2 separate regions of the Homo sapiens genome follow, and region 1 is linked to region 2. The links are contacts of gene promoters, found by promoter capture Hi-C in blood cells and fetal thymus (Javierre and others, 2016). All regions are on one chromosome and are shown on one strand. The core of a region is centred on a gene start or on the middle of the fragment in contact, and the rest is flanking DNA. Distances in the headings are between cores, read along the strand shown. Region 1 overlaps SGPL1 (sphingosine-1-phosphate lyase 1). Region 2 holds the start of TYSND1 (trypsin like peroxisomal matrix peptidase 1).

What was found. The method cuts DNA at HindIII sites, captures the fragments that hold promoters and counts their contacts. A CHiCAGO score of 5 or more calls a contact.
Region 1: a fragment that was not itself captured here is called in contact with the fragment with the promoter of TYSND1 in region 2 in 1 of 17 cell types (naive B cells); the score reaches 5.0 in naive B cells.

Annotation. Positions count from the first base shown.
Region 1 is chr10:70,831,889-70,836,217 of GRCh38, forward strand. The region is part of intron 2 of SGPL1 (sphingosine-1-phosphate lyase 1); the gene reads left to right. Among named protein-coding and RNA genes, the nearest start is that of SGPL1, 18 kb to the left of the region's middle. The HindIII fragment of the contact is 738 bases long and covers 1,404-2,141 here.
Region 2 is chr10:70,145,203-70,149,011 of GRCh38, forward strand. TYSND1 (trypsin like peroxisomal matrix peptidase 1) reads right to left here and starts at 1,498. Exons shown (of 4, transcript NM_173555.4): 1 at 219-1,498. The coding sequence starts at 1,384. It overlaps SAR1A (secretion associated Ras related GTPase 1A), which reads right to left. Exons shown (of 7, transcript NM_020150.5): 7 at 2,087-3,809. RefSeq lists silencers at 400-629, 960-1,269 and an enhancer at 760-809. The HindIII fragment of the contact is 18,251 bases long and covers 1-3,809 here.

The DNA of each region.
Region 1 (4,329 bases), core at 523-3,022, 690 kb after region 2:
CAGGAATGAGGGTTTTTTGGCCCACAGTTGGACTAGAGTCTTGCTTTGAGGCAGGTAAAAGAGGACAGGAGAAGGTTGAGAGAGATTCTGTTTCCTGAGGCCCAAAGTGCCCCAGCATTATAATAGAAGACTATAACAAGGGCTATGGGGGTTATGAACCAGGAACCATGGATGCAAACCAATATATACGTATAACATCACAGAAGCACACTTTCCTGCTCACTTTCAATAGATACCACAAAGTTTGAAACTCTTCCAAGTATTAATTTTAAATTAAATTTACTCAGCTGCTTACTTCAGCTTTTAAAAGTAGGTTCTTGGTAATTTCGAAGATGCACTTTCCAAAGGGTGTTTATATAGTTGAAGGTCAGTCAGAGACCTAGGGATAGGTCCCTGCTTATTCTTTTGAGCAGGCTTACGTGTTGGAAATCTCTAGAGAAATAGCTTTAGTTAGGTTACACTTCTCAGCAAATATTCAGTATTCCTCATCTCTAATAGCAGCATGACTGTTGTAGGGAAGGAATTTCCACAAATGGTTATGAAAAGTCTAAGTGTCTTAACTCCCAGACAAAGATAGAGAATTCTGTTAGTAAGATAAGTATGGGACTGGAGAAGTCAGCTAACCTCTGCCCTTCCCCAATCGTGATATGCTCAGAGAAGTTAAGACTTCTTTCTGTGTGAGAAATACGGGATCTTTTCCACTAGATCTTGCTTATTATCCAAGAAATTATCATTTCTAGTTTTAGAGAATGATGAAACTCATTTGTGCTTTGAAATATAACCTGTATACATGTGCACAGTAAGTCATTTAGCTATTTATTGTCAGACTCTGAGAGTTCATAGCAAACTTAGCAACATTCCATGTGCAAATTTGCATATTTTTCCCCCCATATCTTACCTACTTGCCTTAGGCTGGGAGTCTATTTTCCTACAAAACTGGTAATTGCTCTTATCTCTGTGTCCTTCAGTGTGTTCCTCTGCTTATTGAATTCAGTTTTATGCATTTAGTCTTCTCTCCTAGTATAAGCTGCTCCTGATACTTTTAAATATGTATTTCAGAAGAGAGGTGCTCAGAATTGTTACTTAACAGAATCAGCATCTCCCTTTACTTGATGCCTTGTCCTGACCACAAGTACATTAATAAAGTGACCATTTAGCAGTGTTTCGGGTTCAGCTTTTAGGAACTTAGAAGCTGTGGTTTTCCATGAGTGCACTTCTGATGACTTGGGAACATTTCATATGTGTGTTCTTTCTGTGGCCAAGATGGTTTTGTTATTTCAGGGATGGAAAGATGCTTTGCCTGAATACTCCCATGCTAAGTGTATAGCAGTTGGTGCTTGGGGAATGGTACCAAGTGTACATATCTGGCAAGGCCAGGCTAGAAGGGAAAATGTAGACTCTTAAGCTTTTTGAGACGAACTTCTCAGATACTGGATCTCTTGACTCACATAGTGGAATTTTGGGGGAAGTATGTGGTTTGCTTTTTGTCTCCTAAGAAATGATGATTCAGTTTCCTCAAACGTTTCTCACAGTCACTACTGGTTGCTTGGAATGGCTGTCTGGTTTTGTTGCTCAGTTCTTACTTCTTTAATGACCCAAGAGGATTTTCCCTTTGGGGTTGTGATGTGTTTTTGATGATAAACTTTAATGCTTTTGGAGGCTATAAAGACAATAGTATTTTCTTACCTGTTTACCTTGCACTTTGAAGTTCTGTAGACTGTAATATGAAAGAAAATCAGATTAAATTAGCTTTGCTTTCTGGCTTTTCTTTTTTTGGTGGGGGGGCAGAAGCTGATAAGAATAAATATACTAACTGAGTCTCTTCTGTATTTTAACTTCACTCCCTAGGCTGAGGCTTAGTCCTTAGAGTAACATTTGAACTGGGTAGAACAGATTTTTCTTTTCCTCAACAGCCCATTCCTGCTGTAAAGCTCAGATTTATGGTCCTTCTGGAAAAAGTATTGAGCGTTGAATAGTTCAGGAAAACAAATAACAAATTCTGTCTTCTTTGCAGGATTGTGGGGTAGAAGATTTTGATTTTTATTAGTATCTGGCCAAAGAATAAATATTAGGCAGGAACAATGAATTGATATCTAGTAGAGTGACGTGACTGGGCCCTGACTTTTAACACTTCCCAGGAAAGCTTCGTGGATGTCTTTTCCCTGCTGCGTGAATACCGGGTAGCCATTAAGTTTGGTGATTGGGTGTCAGTAATATGTTAAGTCAGCTACTGGGTCATCTTTTAATAAAAGAAAAGGATGGGGAAGAGAATGGATTCTTAAGCAGTGTTGCCTGTCAGAATCACCGGAGGGAGGTTTACAAAATACACATTCTGTACTCTGACCCTGTGGGTGGGGTATTCTGACCCAAGAAGATGATTCGTTCCAGGAATCATGCTTCTTGGATGATATTGATGTACCCCCACTGGCTTTATGGAAAGAATATTGAAGAAGAAGATAGATTCTCTTGGGGGCTGTGCCTCTAGTTTGAAACCAGGGAAGGCACATTTTGGTATTAGTCTGTGGCCTCAGTTTCTTCATCACTGCAATGAGATTGGACTATAGGTGGTCTCTAAGGTTCCTTCAGACAGTAGCATTTTATGATTTTGAAGACAACTTTTCTGAAGTACTTTTCAAACTAATTTCTTTCCGTCTTTCTTTTGTAAGCAAATAAGTAGTATGAGTGTAAGTCTCTAGCTCAGAGAAGAATGAAGTTTGCAGTTCGAAAAGGCCATGCAATAGCAGTTCACTTCCCCAAAATGCTCAGCCCTTGTAGGATGCCGTTAGGTCATCTGGAAGTTCTGTATGCCTTCACTGGGAGCGTAGTGAAGATGAGAGCCTTTCCTTTGGCTCTTGGAGTAAACTAGCTGACAGGACTTTGAGAACTGTTGGTCTCCTGATTTGTGCCACTGATAGTTTGGCTCTGGAAAACTAGGCAGTGGAAAAAACAATGCATTTTAAACCAGAAGATTTGAGTCCTGGCTCCGCTATTTCCGAGCTTTGTGACCTGTAGGCCTCAATGTCTTCATCTGTGAAGGACAGGTTCAGCTCTGATGGCCTATGATGTGATGAACCTTGTGAACTTGTAGGCAGAGTGCCACGGTGTGCAGAGTCCAGTTACAGATAACCAGCCATTCTCCTCTGCAGATTCAACCCACTGCCACTGTGTCTTGTTAAGCTTAAATAGGAGAGATGTGGGAGAGAGGAGGCAGAAACATCCTAGGATCTTGCAAAACAAAACTGTCAAAAGTATAGGCAATATCATAATTACTTTATTTGAATAAACGTTGAGTTCCTGCTGTGTTGAAGATGCTGTTTTAGGCAGTGTAGGAGATAGAAGACTTATATCCTCCTCCTAATTTGTATTCTTATCAGCACCTGGTACCATAGAGAGTTCATATATTAAAATTATTTGGTTGTTCTCCCTAACCAGAGTTGAATTCTTTCCTTCTAGGACAAATTAACTCATAATGCAATAGGCTAATGCAGTTTGGCCCTGAGTGACTCTTGAGAAATACCCTGAGTTGAGGCACACTGGAAACGTGGCACATTAGAAATGCCAAGAAGAGGCCGGGTGCGGTGGCTCATGCCTGTAATCCCAGCTCTTTGGGAGGCCGAGGCGGGTGGATCACGAGGCAGGAGATCGAGACCATCCTGGCTAACACGGTGAAACCCTGTCTCTACTAAAAATACAAAAAATTAGCTGGGAGTGGTGGCGGGTGCCTGTAGTCCCAGCTACTTGGGAGGCTGAGGCAGGAGAATGGCTTGAACCCGGGAGGTGGAGTTTGCAGTGAACCAAGATTGCACCACTGCACTCCAGCCTGGGTGACAGAGCAAGACTCCGTCTCAAAAAAAAAAAAAAAAAAGAAATGCCAAGAAGACATTGTACAGGAGAATGAAGGGAAACTTTCTGTAGGGAAGTAGCTTTCCCAGAAACTTGACTCTATAATGAAGCTATAGAGATCAGTAAAATCATTAGGGCATTACTGTTTTGAACATTTCCTTGAGTGAATAACAGACTTACACTCAGGGCCCTAGGTCTCTGTTGTGGCCCAGCAAGCTGCATTCAGACAAGGAGGCAGTTTGAGAGGTACGAGTTGTTATGGAAGCCTGAGAAAACTGGTTTGTGTGCACTTCAGTTTTGACCATACAACCTTCACTCACTTAGCACTGTGCAGTAATCCACTGAGCAAAATTGCCACATTTTCCTTGGCAGGGAATCTGTGTGCCTGTGGCAGTTCAGAAATTATTTGTAGAGTGGGTCAGCCTGTCAGCAGGAATGTTTTTCTTTGATCTTCAGCCTGTTTTTCTTTAATGTGAGCAGAACAGT
Region 2 (3,809 bases), core at 248-2,747:
AATCCAGAGCTGCTTCGAGCTTGACACCTTGCCCCAGATTCTCCCCACAGGGGTTCTGGGTATAAAGGATGAGGGGAGGGTTCCAGGTCTCTACCCACTACACGCCCAAAGCATCCGCGTGACACAAGAAAGGCCTGCACAATACTCAAGAGTATTAGGGCTGGACCCAGATCTGAGACCTGGAAAGGGATGAAGTGGCGTCAGCCCTGCGGGCTTACTTGGGGGTGGTGGAGCGCACCAGGACCCTGGCTGCTTCCCGAGGGGACACGTGCCGACAGGTCACTACAAGGCGGGGTGCCACAGCCACTCCGGAGCCCCATACGGTGCCGCACTCCACCAACACTGCCGCGGCTGCCCACAGGGGCCCGGAGTCTCGGAGGGGCAGACCCCACGGGACGCCCACCTCTGGCGGCAGAAGGGCGGCCAGGGCAGCGGTGCTGTGCGGCAGGCGGTGAAGCGCGTCGCGGGCGGCGCGGAAAAGGGGGGCGGCGGCGCAGAGCAGCGTGAAGCCCACCCATTCGCCGGCCTTCCAACAGAGCGGCGCCACCACCAGCGCCACCAGCGCCCCCGCGGGCCGCGCGGTGAACACGCCGCCGCCCTCGGTGCCGGGCAGGCAGCGTGCGTCGGTAAGCAGCAGTGGGCCGGCCACGTTGCTGAGCACCCCGCAGCTCAGCGTGTTGAGAAAGATGTCGGGGCAGAAGGCGCCGAAAGGGGAGCCGCAGACCAGCAATGGCGCACCCTTGGGCACGGCCCCGAGAGGCGACACCGCCATGGCTGGCCCGCGCTCCTCCTCCACCTCCTCCTGGCCTAGCCGCACGCCCAGCAGCGCAAACCAGCCCAGCGCTCTCAGTTGATCCGCCTCCTCGTCCTCCGACACTTCGTCATCCCGCGCCGCGCTCGAGAAGCGCCACTGTTCCGCTGCCTCGTCCCCGAAGAGGCGCGCGAAGTGGGCCCAGAAGGCCGGGCAGCTCAGCAGCAGCAGCAGCTCAGCAGGAAGCCGGGGCTGCAGGGGACGCCCGCGGGACGGGGCAGGTGGGCCGGGCTCGAGGCTCGCGCACTGGGGCGTGCACAGCCCTGGGCGGCCCCGCTCCGCGCCGCCCCCGGGACCCGCGGCCGTTGGGGCCCACTGCACGTGCAGGCGCAGGTCGTCCCTGCAACTGTCGCCAGGCAGGAAGACGGCGCCGGCCGCGGTCAGGACTTCGCTGCCAGCTCGCAGGAAGGGGACGAAGATGCCCCCGTGGCAAAGCACCAGGCCCGGGCTACGGCTCAGGATTACCCCGCTGCAGCTCCACGGGCCCGCCTCGGGCTGTCCGGCCCGGGAGGCGCTCACCATGCAGCCCGCCTGCTCGGCCGCCCTCATGGCAGACCCCCACTGCCTTCTCATGGCCTCTAGGCCGGACACTCGGGAGCTTCTCCGAGAAACAGCAAGCTAGCGAGCGAGGACCCCTACCCGGTCCGGCTGAAGCTGCCTAGCGCCACCCACAGCTGGAAGCGAGAGGCGCAAGCTCTGACTCACGTCTTCCTCATCGAGCCCGATTGGCTAAGCCCCAATTGACCCGACCCGATTGGCTGGGCTTGTACCGAGCTCTGATTGGCTTCCTATTCTGATTTTTTTTTTCCTTTCCCCGCCCTCGTTAGTTTGTCCAACCGGTGGGACATAATCTGCCCCATTCCCCCGGATGAGCCCCGGGGAGAGTAAGAGGAGTGCGGCGTCACGAGGAATCAGAGGAGAGGAGGGTGGGTCCCTTCAAGCCTAGTCTCGTTTGCTGGAATGTGGGAAAGGGAATAGAAATGAGCGCTGACGTGCCTAGATTTGCCCAGGCCACGACAGTACCTGTGAGCATCTGCCCAGGTCTAGGCGACCTTCAGCCTCTGACCCTTGGGATAATATGGACCAAGGAAATCCTTGGCCAATTCAGTGTTTTGAAAATTTAAAAGTAAACCCTATAGCAATCCACTAGGGGGCATGGAACTCTCAAGATTACTCCTAGGATTTTTTTTTGCTGCCAAAGCCCCAACACAAATCTCCGAGAAACTGGATTTGCTGTAAATTAAATTGCCCTTTAAATCGACTATGAACAGTAGCTGAAATCAAAAATTTTAATCATACAGGCCTATATTTTACAGTGTGCACATTTCACATAACATAACCACCAGCCAGGATTTATCTAGGCCAGGGTCCAAATACTTTCTGTAGAAGGCCAGAATGGAAACAGTTCCAGTTTGGGGGGACCATACAACTTGTCTCAAATAGTCAACTCTGCAGCTGTTGCATACAAAAGCTAAAGGAATGGCGGTGGCTGTGTCCCAATAAAAAGATACAGACATTGAAATTTTAATTTCATACAATTTTTTGTGTCCAAAAATAGCATTCTTTAAATATTTTTTCCAACCATTTAAATATGTAAAAACCTTTCTTTGCTCACAGGCCATACAAACACAGGCAGCAGGCCCGATTTGACCCACAAGGCATAGTTTACCATCTCTAGTGTACACTAACATAAACTGCTCTACTTTTCCAAAGAAGTACGCTTTAGGACAGAGGAGGATGAACGAGTATGTCGGGGAGTGGGGGGGCGCGGAGCTTCATGATACCCTCAATCAGTCACCACAAGCTAGACAGTTTACAAAGGTCTGCTTTATCACTGAATTGATAAAATACACATTATTTTTTATTTATTTATTTATTTTTTTGAGACGGAGTCTCGCTCTGTCGCCCAGGCTGGAGTGCAATGGTGCGATCTCCGCTCACTGCAAACTCCGCCTCCTGGGTTCACGCTATTCTCCTGCCTCAGCCTCCCCAGTCGCTGGGACTACAGGCGCCTGCCACCACGCCCAGCTAATTTTTTGTATTTTTAGTAGAGACGGGGTTTCACCGTGTTAGCCAGGATGGTCTCGATCTCCTGACCTTGTGATCCGCCCGCCTCGGCCTCCCAAAGTGCTGGGATTACAGGCGTGAGCCACCGTACCCGGCCATCATTAATTTTTATTAAGGTTACTGTATTGCTTACCATATACAATTGCTACTTAAATTCTCTAATCTTTCTGCCTGAATTCTTTAAATAAAGTTAACACTGCTTGGTATAACCCCAGCACAACACAGGATAATGCTCCCAGTACTCCCAGTGACACAAACCTGCTAGAGAAAGGAAAACGATTATCCATGATAGTATGAGGCAGGAATAAAATTAGGCCATCTTGCCATAGCAGGCGGTCTTCTTTTGGTTCTATGACACAGAAGGTGGCTTGATCACAGCACAATTTCTTTATCCCAACTTCCTAGCAATCAAAGAGTTTTTCTCTTGGTGGAGCACAGGGGCTCACACTTGGAATCCCAGCACGTTGGGAGGCTGAGGTAGGAGAATTTCCTGAGCCCAGGAGTTTGAGACCAGCCTGGGCAACATGATGAGACCTTAACTCTACAAAAATTTTGAAAACTAGCTGAGCACGGTGGTGCAACCCTGTGGTCCCAAGCTACTTGGGAGGCTGAGATGGGAGGATCACTTAAGCCCAGGAGGTCAAGGCTGCAGTGACCTATGTTCATACCACTGCACTCCAGCCTGGGCGACAGAGTGAGACCAACTCAAAAAACAAACAAACAAACAAACAAACAAACTTTCTCTCTCGAGTCCAGTGATTCTCCCTCAACGCTCAAGACTCCAGCATGAACTGTTAGGCATTGGGTTTTTCTGTGTTTACAGCAGACCATGGTAAAAAGAAGTCCCAAGTCACAGCCAGAACGCCAAAGTAAGATCTGTTGAGTGCTAGGCTCATGGACTGAGCCTAATCTTATTTTCCACTCTGCCTCA